3 separate regions of the Homo sapiens genome follow, and regions 1 and 3 are each linked to region 2. Evidence: promoter capture Hi-C in 16 types of primary human blood cells and fetal thymus (Javierre and others, 2016). All regions are on one chromosome and are shown on one strand. The core of a region is centred on a gene start or on the middle of the fragment in contact, and the rest is flanking DNA. Distances in the headings are between cores, read along the strand shown. Region 1 overlaps BTBD9 (BTB domain containing 9). Region 2 holds the start of MDGA1 (MAM domain containing glycosylphosphatidylinositol anchor 1). Region 3 overlaps BTBD9 (BTB domain containing 9).

Region 1 (4,844 bases), core at 2,265-4,764, 870 kb after region 2:
ATTTTCTTATTCACTTTAGAAGCTGGATTGAAGGTCCTAGAAACTCTTCCTCACCAGTTTCATTAATTTCTGGGTTCCATTCCCAGTTCCGCAGCTCACTTTTGTCTCTGTTCCTTGTGCTGGAGGCTCTTGGCTCATATTTAGAAGCCCTCAGGTCCTGGATGGCATTGCATTCTGTTCCTTCCTTGCTTCAGGATTTCCTAAGTTTCATAAACAAGTGTTGGGAGAGTTGCAGTACACCAAAACAGACTCCTAAAGGAGATTTCACAAAGGAAAACTGATAGACTAACATTCATTTCCTCACATGCAGCATGTACCCAACAATGAAATATCTATGAAATGTATTATTTTTCTAAGCAAAAGTCACTAACTCAAGTCCTGCCTCCAAAGGAGGGGAGGGGTACTTTCTTTACTTCTTGGGAATTTTTACTGTTTTCTGTGACAACGTAATTTATACTTCTTCGCAGGGAGTCTTTTAATCTTAAAGAAAGAAGTTTTAAAAGCGACAGCTTTAACTAAAACCAAGTAACTCCTAGATACCTTACACAGTTATACAAGGTAACACAGAAAGAGAAGATTGTCATTTATGTATGTTCTCTGAGCTTAGGGACATAGGTAGGAATTACGGGTGGGTAGATGGTAAACAGACAATTTTGATTAGTGAGACAAAAAAAGGTATTCTTTGTAAGAACCAAGAATGATGCTATAGAAGCAGAAGAACCTAATGATGGAGAGCTTTGAGAGAAGGGTTTAGATTTGGCCAAGTCCAATGTAGAGTCTACCTTAGGTAAGTGTCCTGAATACACATTATTTTGCCTGGAAGGGCAAAAACTATATCATGAAATTCTTGACAGCGGCCACTGTGTCTTGTTCATCTTTTTATGTCTGGCACCTAAATGAGGTGCCTACAATATAGCACGTGTTCAATAAATGTTTCTTGCGTGAATGTCTGAATGAATAAATCCCATAAGTAATAAAGTAGTATTCAGAAGAAAAATATGAGAAAAAAGATGTTTGATGATCAACATAGAAGGTGCTACCTGAACTTAATCCTGGGCCTAACTGCTTGGGAAGCAACTGTTAGCAGAGGCAAATATAGTTTTTGCCCTTTCAGAATGAAAAACAGGCAATGGCTATTTGTGGTAATAACAACAGGTGATTAATGTTAGTAACATCATCTCATGCAATAAGCTTATTAGGACACTAATTTATATTCTAAAATTATAAAATACAATGCAAAGGAAAAGGGCAATCCTGTTCTGTTTTCTCACACAAAAGAAGCTCAACATGTTATTATCCTCTAAACAAAACAAAACAAAGAAGCTTGGATTCAATTGAATAACTTAAGGACAAACAGTCATTTCTCAAAGGTCTTACTGAATATAAAACATGGCGGGGTTTTGGGGGATTTTTTTGCTATTGTTGTTGTGTTTTCCCCCTAATAAAAGGGTTCTAGATGAAAATAATAAACAGAAAATTTCCCAACTAAAAAAAAAAAGCAACTCAAGGTGTGAAGAGATCTTGTAAATAAAAATTTCCTAATATATGGAATTTGTTTCTAAACACAGTTTAATGAAAACAAGCTAGGATTCAAGAATATTAGGTTCACTCTATAATAATACTCTAAAATGATCTTATGGAGAACTAAGGGGCAGGAAAATTCGAAGCTCTACAAACAAACTGACAAAACATACCTAGATAAAGGATTGCTGCACTCCCTTTGGAGCATTTTAAAACAGAAAATATCCCCGGTTGTTCATCATCATTATTAGTATAATGTGTGTGTAGTCTGGGTGGCTGTGACCAGCACTAGTAGAATTTGGCCACAGCAGGTCCTCCCCTACAGGATTGCTGGAAACTGCTCCTTCCAAAGAGGTAGTAAGAGCTTCTTCAGGGCTCAATGCCTCCTTCTCCTACTCTAAGGTAGAGCTATTTCTTTACCTTGATTCTTGCATCAGCAATGTAATGTGGAGTCAGGCAGACCTGGTTACAAATTTAGCTTTTCTAAGGCTCAATTTCCTCACCTATAAAATTAAGTAGCGGTTTTTCTCCTACAGGACTATTGTAAGAATTACACAAGGTAATGAGATGTGCCTGACCCACAGAAGATACTCAATAAATGTTAGACTGTTCCCTTCCTACCACTTCTGAGGTCCTGTAACCTCATTTCTCTTTATCCTCATTCCTCTTTTCTTCTGTTTTCTGATTCCTTTTACATATTTAGAGAATCTATCTCCTATCTCCTTTGAGTTACTCCTCTCTTTCAAAATTCCAAAGGAAGGTTAAAAAATATATATATTTGCATGAAACTGAATAGCTGGACTACAGAAGCCCACATTTCTCCTATGCCTTGCAGATGACAACTCAAGAACTAGCTAGCAAGCACCAAAATATATACCTCTGGACTTTGGACATAATTAACGCTCCACATCAGCAGAAAGACTTAAATAGTACAAATAGTTTCACATGTTATTTCACAAATCACAGACTTTCAGAACAATTTATATTTAAATATGATGGTGTAAAAAAGCAATTTTTAAATTCTCTTTAGCTTCGAGTAAAATTGTTATAATTTAGTGACACCATGTGGCTACACTTTGCTTTGCATTCTTAGAAGAAAATGTTCCTCTATGAGGGTTGCTCTTGCTAGTTCAATTGTAATATCAAGGTTGTAGGTAGATGGACAACTCAAACTAAGTATGAACTAAAAAGATAACTTTTTAAAAAATGAAACTAATCCTGTTTCTTTTACATCTGAATAAGGCATTTCTTGAATTGTGAAGCTCTTCAGTCATAAGAAGAAAGTAAAGGCTCAGTATTATTCTAGCTAGGATTCTAAAGCAATCTAGTGAACACTGAATAATGTAAGAGTGTCTACCTTTAAAAGTAAATAGATACATCAATGCCCAGTTATGGGCAGAGGTGTAGGGAACAAAAGAGAAATGAAAGAAGACATATGTTATACAAGTGTTAATATAGCAGGGAAAGAATGCTTCCATAAATAGCAATGCTTATTTTCTCATTTATTTTATGTAGATCTATAGCACTATGTAAGTACTATAATCTAATGAGAATAGGTGAAAAAAAATTATGCTGTATCTATTGACACCAGGAATGAGGGGGGCCTAGAATGTATAGTAGCAATAAATGAGATTAAAATGCCATATACCAAAACACAGTAAAGTTAGAGTATTCCTCTAATGAGGTCTCCCACAGTAGACCAGCTACTGCCAAATAACATTCAATGTACACCAAAGAAAATATTTAGATGTTGTGTAAATATCTAAAACAATGGGCCAGGCATGGTGTCTCACACCTGTAATCCCAGCACTTTGTGAGGCTGAAGCAGTCAGATCGCTTGAGTCCAGGAGTTGAAGACCAGCCTGGGCAACATGGCAAGGCCCCATCTCTACTAAAAATAGAAAAAACTAGCTGAGTGTGGTGACACATGCCTGTAGTCCCAGCTACTCAGGAGGGTGAGGTAGAAGAATCATTTGAGCCCAGCAGGCAGAGGTTGCAGTGAGCCAAGATTGCACTACTGCACTCCAGCCTGGGTGACAGAGCAAGCCCATCTAAAAAACAAAGAAACAATCACACACACACACACACACACAAAACCAAAAACAAATAAAACAATGACCAGAAAATATCACCCCCTTCATCTCAGCTTAAAACACCTACCCCCCATCTCTGGCCTTTTCTAACCATCCTATTTAAAATAATCCTTCTCCCCTGACTTCTGTTACTATCACAGTACCATCTTTGCAACACTTATAATTATGTGATGTGCTTATTATTTGTTTGTTTTAATCTGTTTCTCCCAAATTCCAAAAGCACAGAAACCTTGGCAATCTTCTTCAGTGTTGTGGCCTCAATATCAAGTACAACAATAGCATAAAGTAGGCGCTTATTTGTTGAATGGGTGAGTGACGAATGAATACATAAAATCTATTTCCTTAGCTGGTGAAGCATGCCTAAATTTCCTGTTGTAAGTGAAAGTAGAACCATTCTAGTGAGATGTTTATCATCACTTACGGCCTCTAATGTGACTACAACAACCAGAAGACAGCCTAGCAGATGCTCTATGATACCCTTTCTTTTTTCTATGACACATATGGCACACACAATTTCTCATTCTAAGAAAAGAAGAAAAAGGAGGGAAGTGAACTACAATAATTAAAATACTTTCAGCAAGAATCAAAGAAATCAGTGGAACTGAGTAGGGTATATGCTAGAATCCAGCTCATCATAAATATGGCTGATCACATTAGGATAGCAAGAAATGATTATCAAATAAATGACTTTAATCAACTGACTATCCCTACCTGAAAAGATCTATGCAAAATATCCTGACTGTATTAAATACTTAAGATATAAGGCTTAAAAAAAAAAAACAAGTAGTGGAAAAAATATATATATATACATAAAAGTTTAACATACTTTAATATTAGAGTGAGGAATAATCTTCTAATCATAATACCAAGCCAGAAATCATTTAAAAGACTGACAGATTTGAATACATTTTTTAAAAAGTAAAATTCTATATGGCAAAAAGTACCAATAAAACACTAAAAATGCGTTAACAAATTTCATATATGACAGGCAAAAGGATAATGTCATATATATATATGTATTGATACAAAGTTCTCACAAGACAAAAAGAAAACTATCTCAGAAGAAAAATATGCAGAAGACAAAAACAGGCTTTTCATAAATAAGAAATTAACAAATGGCCAGTATTAAAAGATACTTTAACTCACCAATAAAGAAATTCAAAGTAAAATAGGATTTTTGTTTTAAACAAATTATGTATTACATTGGCAAAACGGTGACAGTGTCTGCAT
Region 2 (4,640 bases), core at 29-2,528:
CTGGAGAGGGCGGGGACGCGGGCATCCACTCCAGAGTCCGAGTCGAGGTCTCCACCAAACCCCGGCAGCGCGCACTTTGCGCCTCTTGCAAAGTTTCCGCGCGAGGTTAAGCCAAGGTGGAGCGGGACGCGGGCTCTTACCGTAGACTCCTTGTCCCCGGCAGTGGAAGGGGATCAGCGCCAGAAGTAGAAGGCAGGTCACCTCCATCTTCACGGCCGGTGCTTCATCCCCGCGAGGCGGCGCAGCCCGAGAGGCGGCGGGGGGCGCATTCGCCGGGGCCCCGCGACGCCCCTATGTCCCCCCCTTTCCCTGAGAGGTGAGAGAGAGAGCGGCGACGAAGACCAGGAGACTGAAGAGGCGGAGGTGGCGGCGACCCGTGTTTCTCCTCCGGCGGGGCCGCTGCCCGCGTGGGGACGCAGGGGGCGCTGGCCCAGCCCCGGGTGCCTCGGCGCGCCCGGCACAGCAGCCAGCGCCCCGACCCGAGGAGCCCGGCCGCCGAGCCGCCCCGGGTACCCAGGGCCGTCCGCGCGGGATGCTAGGCGCCGGGGACCTCTCGGCGGCGGAGGCGGCGCTTCGATCCAACAGGCCACGGACGACTGACAAACTTGTCGTTTCCCCGCACTGGGGCCGCCCCTCAGCGGAGCGGAGTCGGGGAGGCCGGGGCTCCGCTCGAGTTAATCAATCTGCTGTTTCCAGTCCTGCGGCCGCTGCCGTGGGCTCAGCGGCCCGACTCCAGGGGGCCGGGCTGAAAGCACTCGCGGCGGCGAAGCAGCCCCGGGCCCGGCCCTCCTGATCCGGGGAGCAGCGCGGGCTGGGTTCGGCCGAGGGACGAGCGCCGCGGGTCCCCGGGTCCGTGAAGTTAGCCGAGCCGCCGATAAACCCGGGGGAAGAATAGCAGCCCGGCGCCCCGCGGGAATCTGGAGAGCAATTCCAGGCAAGAAGGGCCCCAGAAAACGGGGAAAGGAGGAAAGTTTGAGTCTTTTGAAAAATATTCGCGCTCTCGCCCAGGCCGGGGCTGCGGCGCGGGCGCCGCTCGCCGCCTCCGCTCGCCGCGCTCCTCTCCCGCCGTCTGGCCGCGGCCGTAGCCCTCCCGGGCTCCGAGCTCTCGGGAGAGCGGGGCTACGCCGCGCCCCAAGTTGGTCGTCCCCGCCCCCGCCCGGCGGCCTTGGCCTGCGGGGGCCCAGAGCGGGCGGGGCCGGGCCGGGCTCCGGGGCGCGGCGGCCGCTCGGCTCCGGGCCGCGGGAGCGCTCCGCTCGCTCAGCAACTTGGGCTTTGCTGTGCTGCTTTTTCGCCCCTCCGAGCTTTTCATTCCGCGCTCCTCCCGCCTCCCTCCCTCTCTTCCTCCTCCCTCCTCCTCGCGTCTCCTCGTTCGGTCTCTCGCTCTCCCACCCGTTGTCGCTCGCTCTCCTGTTTGATTCCCCTCCAGTTAAAAAAAGGAGCCAATTAAAGGCAGCCCAGCTCGCCTGGCCCAGCCTCTGTCCAATTTCCTCGCCTCCCCCAGGACCAATTAGAGAAAACAAAACAGGGCTGGGGGAAGCTGACTGCCTGCCTTTCTCTTTCTCTTTCTCTTTCTCTTTCTCTCTCTCTCTCTCTCTCTCTCTCTCTCTCTCTCTCTCTCTCTCTCTCTTTCTCTCTCTCTCCTCTCTCTCTCTTCTCTCTCTCCTCTCTCTCTCCCTCTCGCTCTCTCTCCCTTCCTCTCCTCTCCTCTCTTTCCCTTTCTCCTCTCCCTCTCTCTCTCTTCCTCTCTCCGCCCCCTAACATTCCCCCCCAACCCCGCCCAGCAGGAAAATGTCAGAAAGCAGAAATGGATCCATCTATCCCGAGGACAGTGGCGGAGGGACCTGGGTTTCGGCGGGGGCTCTGCAGCCGCGCGCTCGCACACTCGCTGTTCTCCAGCCTTGCACACCCAGACTAGCTGGCCGAGCCGGGTGCACCGTTGCCAGCAGCCCGCGGGGCAAACACGGCCGCTCGCTTCGGAGACCCATGCCCGCAGGGCACTGCACACTTCGTAAATGTTTTGCACTTTGGGGAGGCGGGACTGAAGCGGGGGTCCTAGGGAAAGGCCGGGCGCCTGCGGTTCCTGGGGTCCTGCAGCCGCGCGAGACGGGCCGCGGCTGTGGGTCTGCAAGGCTGTCTGCCCGGCTCGAGAGGCCCCCGCCCCTTTCCAGGCGTCTGGTGCTGGGGCCGGGCCGGAGCAGCTGGCGGAGAGGTCGCGCTGAGAGCTCCTGCCCTTGCCGCGGCCCACAGGTTGCCAACAGGTTTGCTCGCACGACCCCTCCGCCAGAGCTTCCCTAAGTCACCCCACATTTTCCTCGGCTAGCCACTCTTCCCATCTTGCCTCCCCTCGGGACCTCAGGCGCCCCCAAGCGCCCCGGGGGCACACCTCCTTCCGGCTGCCGAACCCGAGCCCCGCTCCAGCGGCGGGAGTCCGGCACTCGGGTCTCAGCCGCCTCGAAGGGGCCCTCGCGGAGCAGGAGTGCGGAGAACGCTCCTCCCAAACGCCCGCGGGGAGGGGCGTAGGCTGGCAAGCGAGGCTGGTGGCCTCCCCCGCGCCTCCGATCCCGCCCCGCGCCCAACCCGGGTCCTGCTAATCTCACCTGCTCCACCTGTCGCCGTTATTTATCTCAGCGTGTGCGCAAGAATTGTTTTAGGTCGGCCCGTGGGAGCGCAGACAATCGCAGCAGCTAACAAGCGGGGAGACTACGAACCCCCCCTCCCTTCGCCCCCTGGAACTGCTCAATATCTTGATGGTGGTTCCACGGCTCTATGCATTTGTCAAAACTCAAAGATCTCCACACTCCAAAAAGGTTAGTCTGCATATAAATTGAAACATAAATTTTTTTAAAATAATAATAATGAACCGTCCCTTCCCCAGGCCCATTTCCTGCTGGGTCTCTCCTCCCTTGACTCTCCAGGGCTTAAGCCCCACCGGAGCGCGCGCTCCTGACTGCTGGAAGAGGAGCGGGAGGTGTCGGGAAGTGCCTGGTGGCATGGGGGGGTTCCACCTTCCTTTCTCAGCCCCCTTTCTGTCCATCTCAGGAAGCCCGAGAACATCCGAAGATTCCTATTCTCTAGCCCACCTCCACTCGTTTGCGCCTCCCTTGTGCCCTCTTCCGTCTTTTCTCTCCTTTCTACCCCGTGGGTCCAAGGCTGATAGGAAGTCCAGACTCAGTGCGGTGCTCCCAGCAGATGCCAGCTGCAGACATGTTCAGTGAATTCACGAATGATGCCCATCATGGCCAGATATCACAGACCTGGGATACCCTCAGGGTAGCCATCCTTTCACTCCCCAGCCCCGGACTGTTACCTCAAAGGCAAAAAATTCATTTTCTGTCCCACAGAGATACACAGCCACCATGCCTCTTCCCGCCTCCCCCATCCAGTCAGAAAAGGAAGTGGTGCCAATTGAGGGAGTGATGAGGGATAGCTTCTTCTATTGTCATCCTCTTCCCATTATTAGAGGGTTCCTGGAAGTCTCTACCCCTTCCAGGAAGCTCTCAGGGAGTGATCACAGCGACTGTGGCTCTTCCTGGCTTTGCCCATTCTGAGCTGAATGTGTACTTCTCCATGTCGTGCGAAACTGCGCTCTGATTTTCCAATTAGCTGTTCCAACACCAAACAGCAGTCAATTGCTCCTCTTTGGCTTTGGGGTGAGTTACTGGGGACAGAGAACTGCACTGACTCAGCTGACATTCTCTTGACTTTGCCCTCTCTAAACTCACACACTAGCCTGGAGGAGAAAGAAGGTTCATGATGGCGGGGTGGGGGGAACAGAGGACCAAGTTAGCCAGGCTGGGATTGAACATTTGCTGTAGCTAATCCACTTGTGAATACTCTGCAGCTAATTGTATGCAGTGTAAATACCTTGACAGCCTGTTTGTGTGTGTCTGTAAATTCAGCTGTCTCCTCCCCCAAGTGTGCCCTGCCTGCTGCCTCAACACAGCCCAGTGTCTGACAATGGGAGGCAACCTCAGAGAAGGGAAAGAGCCCTAGACATCAGTCCTGCGTCCCAGTCCTAACCTCTCTAGGCCTCAGTTTCCCCAGATGTAAACTAGGTAAGATCCCTGTCTTCCTAGAGAGAAGTGGAGTAATAAGAATAACAGCTGACACCACATGCCAGGCACTGTATTAACTATTTAATCTTCATAACCATTATGTAAGACAGGGCTGTTATTCTCATGGAATGACATAGGAAGATGTAGTGACTCACTCAGCTGCTAAGGGGCCAAACTGAGCTTTGACCTCAGTAGCTTGGCTCGGCGACCTTGCCCTCTCCCACTGTTCTATACTGAAGAGGGGCAAGGGCCTAGGTATCAAATAATGTTTCCACAAGAACTGTTTCCTGTTCCCTTTACAGACACAGAGAACAATACTCTGGCCCCCAAATTGCACCAAGGGCAGGGGGGACATGAGAGCTAGACTGCTAGACCTGACATGGGCCATAGGGCACAGGATGAGCCTGAGGTCAGGCTATCTGGAGGCTTGGTGGTCAGCACCCAGCTGCCAAGTCTTCGGTTCCACTCAAGATCATTCTAGGTCACTTCCCACTAGAAAAAAAAATATATATATATATATGTGTGTGTGTATATATATATATATATATATATATATATATATATATATTTGCCTCAAAGAAAACC
Region 3 (4,729 bases), core at 2,130-4,629, 780 kb after region 2:
CAGCATCTCAAAGCCTGCCCTCAACATTTACTACGCAAAGCACTAATCTGACACAACATATGCTGCCTTTAGCTCTCATCTTCTCTGTCCAATTCACTGTTTTCTGGTTTTTTGTCCTTCCCCACAGCACCACGCACAGCATCATCCTATACAGGAATGTAATATTTGTTGACTGCCCAGAATGAACAAGTTATTCCAATATAAGGGCCACAATTTGGTTCTGAGAAGAACAGCATACCCATGATCTCTTGGGTCTCTGCTGTTTTTCAGCCAAAAGCTGCTGCCATACTTCCCAGTTTGAACCACGGACTGATAGGGCAGGGAAGAGAAGTGGAGAGGAGGTCTAGCTCAACCCCTGAAATGAACACTGAGTTCTAAAGGTCCAGAGAGATTCTCTGAGAGTCTCAGAGAATCTGAGCCAGGCCTGGAAACACGATGGCTCTAGATTCAGTGGTCTTATTCCCAGTCTGTTCTATGGCAGCTCCCTCCAAGAGCTCTTCTCCCTAACTCTTCAAAGAATGTAAACTGGCTAATTAAGTCTGGAAATGTCCACTCGATTTCCTGAATGTCCATTTGGCAGGCTGGAAAAAATTAATTTGGGGTTGCCATTGTGTTTTTCACTCTGTATAATTTAACCGTTAAATATCAAAGGTTCACTGAAGTAAATGAAAGTAGTTTTTAAGCTTAACGGTTAGACACTTTAAAAATTGTTTTCAAGGCAGCACAGCACAAAGGCCAGAATCATCTGATCACAAATTCCTCCCAGGGATATAAAATTAAAAGCATAATTCAGTGTACTTGTAAGGCTACATCTTCCCTTCTCACATCCTTGGAATAAATGAATGCAGACCTGAGTGAAGCCAGGGTGCATAACATGTGCTTATGAGCCAGCCTGAAAAGTACACATTTCACAACTCCAGGAAGACATATTAAAGTCACTGATGAATAATTATTCTGATAAAGCTCTAAGATCCTATGAGGTTAGGCTGTGATTTGAGTTGACAGCTTTGCTTATAAACATTGGTTCTAAAAAATACCAATTAATGATTCATTTGAATCCTGCTTTGCTCTGATACTGTCCAAATTCTGGCATTTCATGTCATGTCGTCGTCTTTTACCATATAAACTTCAGTTTTATCAAGGCAAAGACAGTAAAAAATACTTTCAAGTAAAAATAATACAAATAACAAAGGATCTATTTTACTGTTGTGAACTCTGACAATTTCCTCTTTGCATTAAAAAAGATAATAAGTGTCAAACCAGTTATTATAACACATGACAGCTTCAGAATAGAGACAGCGTATCCAGCTTTATATTATTCAGTATAGACACATGGGAAAAGAGCAAACAGTTTTTCTAACAGATTTCTCTGCCTCAATGCCAATATGGCAAATAATCATAGGAAAATGTTATTACTATACCTAATTTTCCCTTGGAGCTTTTAAATAGAAACTTTTGTTAACTGATTTTTAAAATATGCACAGGGAGTGAGGACAGCAACAACACTACATGGGGCCCTGCCAGTGACATTCAGGCTTCAGAGAGGTGACACCTGGGATGGGTGGGGTTCTGAAGATTAATAAGGGCTGAGGACCAGGGGATGCATCACAAAGACAGATGTCTATCCTAAAAGGGAAGAGCTCCTGAAATGGCATGAATTCCACTGAGGGAGAAGTTGGGGAAATGAAATGAGAAAGCTTAATCTGCGCTTTCTTTCTCTAATTACTGGGGATGACAATCAAAATTAGAGGAGAGTAAAGTAATCCAGATGTACAAGGAACAGAAGCAAAATGAAGTAGTTAAAAGACATTTTATTAGAGACTAAGAGCGATTCACTTCAACTAAGTGTTACCTAGTACCTACTATGTGCTAGCTGTAACATCGAAATACAATTGAATAGACAGGGCTTATTTTGTAAGAGCAAACTCTCATCTACAGGACATGCCAGGGGCAGAATCATGCTTACAATAAGATGCTCAGAAGCAAGACTGTCTTTTCCTTTATACCTAAAAAAGCTTGTTTAGCAAACAGAGTTATCTTTATCTGAAATGCTTCTAATCCTGTGCTTTGTATTTATATCCATACCTTTTAGATAAGACCTACTTTATTGCCAATTCTCACATTTTACTGAGCTAACGAGCAGTATCTATATTTGCTGATTTTATTTTCTGTCACCCTAGTGTTATCATAACTTAATGCTATCAGGGAATAGGAAAGAATCAATGCTGATTATAGTTAAGAAAGCGAGGATGAAAGCAATACGAACTGGGGGTATTTGAATTTGTAAAGCCTCTACAGGAGGTCTTCTTATCCTCGAGTCATTTAAGAATTACTCACTTAACTCAAACTGAGCAACGATGCCACGAACACATCAAGTAAAGCCATCAGTGGCTCTGTGGTGAGGCAGCATGGTTTAGTGGAAAGACAATTCACACAAGGTCTTTAGAGTCAGGTGAACCCGTTTTTGAAATCTGGCCCCATCACTTTTTAAAAACGGTGCAACCTCTCTGGGCTTCAATTTCTTCATCTGTAAGAATGAGAATACCCCTGCTGCCACAGGGATGTTATACAGGATTAGGTAAGACAAAAAGCATGTGTGAGTGCCTAAGAGGAAGCAGCATGTGGTCAATACATGCTGTTTCCTCTCTTTTCCCTCAACTGCTTCCTACCAGGAAGGGGGAGGGGGTCAGAAGTTTAAAAATTTTACCACCAGTCTCTGATTACGTGCGTATATATGTGAGGAGAAACATGTGCAAAGGAAGGTTATATATTTCTGAGTACTGGGCTCTCATGAGCTTTGCCACCTTTAAAATATTTTGGTTTTATTTTATTGATTTTGACTATCATATTAGCTTACTCATATATATCATCTGACACATCCATTTACTGGTCTTTTAAGCATCTCTGGGCATGTGGATGCTTGAAAAATAGTTTATTAGTATGATTTGACTATCTCTATCTTGTCTCCTATTTTTTTTAGAGAATTACATGGCCGGCAGTGAGGATGGTGTCAAATCTCATCAGTCATCTACAACCACTTTCTCTGACCCTTTCTGCATCATTGAATTTGACTCCCTTTCTTCCCATACTCTCCTTAGAGGACCTAAGAGGAAATGTGCATGGGCAGACAAAACAGAAAACTAAAGGAGGGAAGATAAGTGGGTTCTTGGCTTCCGGAAGGATTCTGACCTACTTCACTTGCCTTCAAATTCTGTGTGAATTTATTTCAGAAGCTACAGGGAAGAGCTAAGAACTCCTGTTTTCCTTGGAGAAGGGAAGAAACAAATGCCAGATTAAAACTCAGAGGAAACTCTGGAAATTATAAGCGAGGCTGCTACTATATAATGACCAAGTCGCCTTGGTATGTCTTGTGAGCTAAAATTCCATTTCACTTTTATCATATATAAAACCAGGATTATAGCTCCAGGAGGAGCTACAATCTGTGTTCTCTTTGGTCTATCTGAACATCCCAAATAGTATCACAGTCTACCTGAAGAAGTGCTGCTGAAATAGACTGACAATGCTTCAATTATTTTGGCTGCAGGCAAAGACAAAATAAGTCTCAGGAGTTCTCCAAAAGCTCAAAAAGTTCTCTGTAAACTATGCTGTTATCAAATGGAAACTACAAGAACGCGACCAACACCACAGGAGGAGAGATTTCCCTGGGCTTTGCTCTGGCTATGAAAGAGTTTCCAAATATACAATGAAAAGTCAGTGGAACCTGACAGGCGCCCAATGTGGAGCACAGGGGTTCAGACACACAACCCCTCCAGCTCCTCTCCCGACGGCTTCCCACCCACTGAGCACTGGCCAAACCCTGGTTAAGCGAGCACTGACCTTCCTGTTTATCTGATAATCCACACAGTGTAGATGGGAAAAAATTGAAAGATAGAAAGGAGGAAGCATAAAAAAAATCATTTCCTCAATGTTAGTAAAAACATAAATTGGTTACATGACAAACATGAGGTGGTGACTATGTTAATGGTACAATGGCAAAGTTATTACAATCTTTGGAAGAAAAAAAAAATCCCATTTCTTCACAACTTTCCAACATTTTAAAATCCAAGCCCAGGCTTGAATCACTGCTTTATGAGGTAACACTCCCTTTCTGACTGCATCCGTGTGACTGGGCCACCAAGTCCCACTGATGTAGTTGGTATTACTACTGCTCAATCAACACCTCTCAGAACAACAACTTTCACTTCAGAATCCAAGCCTCAAGTTATAGGGGGCACTAAAATCTTTTTTTATTTTTATTTTTATTTTTAAAAGACAGGATCTGGCTCTGTCGCCCAGGCTAGAGTGCAGTGGCGTGATCTCGGCTCACTGCAACCTCCACCTCTCGGGCTCAAGCAATCCCGCTGCCTCAGCCTCCTGAGTAGCTGGGACTACAGGTGTGCACCACCATGCCCAGCTAACTTTTGTATTTTTGGTAGAGAAAGGGTTCCGTCATGTTGCCCAGGCTGGTCTGGAACTCCTGGGCTCAAGCGATCCTCCTGCCTCGGCCTCCCAAGGTGTGGAGATTACAGGCATGAGTCACTATGCCCAGATGAGCACTAAAATCTTTAAATAAACGCTCTTTTCTATAGACTGCTAAGAGAAATAGAAGGGAAAAAAGCAATACAATACTTAAGATTTACTGGAGAAGTACTACTGGGAATTGAGGGGAGAGTGTACTCTTTGGAAACAGATAAACGTAGCTCTGAAACCCTGCCTTGCTCCTTGCTAG

What was found. The method cuts DNA at HindIII sites, captures the fragments that hold promoters and counts their contacts. A CHiCAGO score of 5 or more calls a contact.
Region 1: a contact is called between a fragment that was not itself captured here and the fragment with the promoter of MDGA1 in region 2, in 1 of 17 cell types (megakaryocytes). The highest score is 5.6, in megakaryocytes.
Region 3: a fragment that was not itself captured here is called in contact with the fragment with the promoter of MDGA1 in region 2 in 1 of 17 cell types (monocytes); the score reaches 6.7 in monocytes.

Annotation. Positions count from the first base shown.
Region 1 is chr6:38,568,383-38,573,226 of GRCh38, forward strand. All of the region lies in intron 6 of BTBD9 (BTB domain containing 9), which reads right to left. Among named protein-coding and RNA genes, the nearest start is that of BTBD9, 69 kb to the right of the region's middle. The HindIII fragment of the contact is 4,387 bases long and covers 1,322-4,844 here.
Region 2 is chr6:37,696,605-37,701,244 of GRCh38, forward strand. MDGA1 (MAM domain containing glycosylphosphatidylinositol anchor 1) reads right to left here and starts at 1,279. Exons shown (of 17, transcript NM_153487.4): 1 at 141-1,279. The coding sequence starts at 207. RefSeq lists an enhancer at 1-632 and silencers at 175-334, 365-654, 835-894, 955-1,084, 1,145-1,214 and 3 more. The HindIII fragment of the contact is 24,309 bases long and covers 1-4,640 here.
Region 3 is chr6:38,475,478-38,480,206 of GRCh38, forward strand. All of the region lies in intron 6 of BTBD9 (BTB domain containing 9), which reads right to left. Among named protein-coding and RNA genes, the nearest start is that of BTBD9-AS1, 3.8 kb to the right of the region's middle. RefSeq lists an enhancer at 1,909-2,432. The HindIII fragment of the contact is 2,733 bases long and covers 2,014-4,729 here.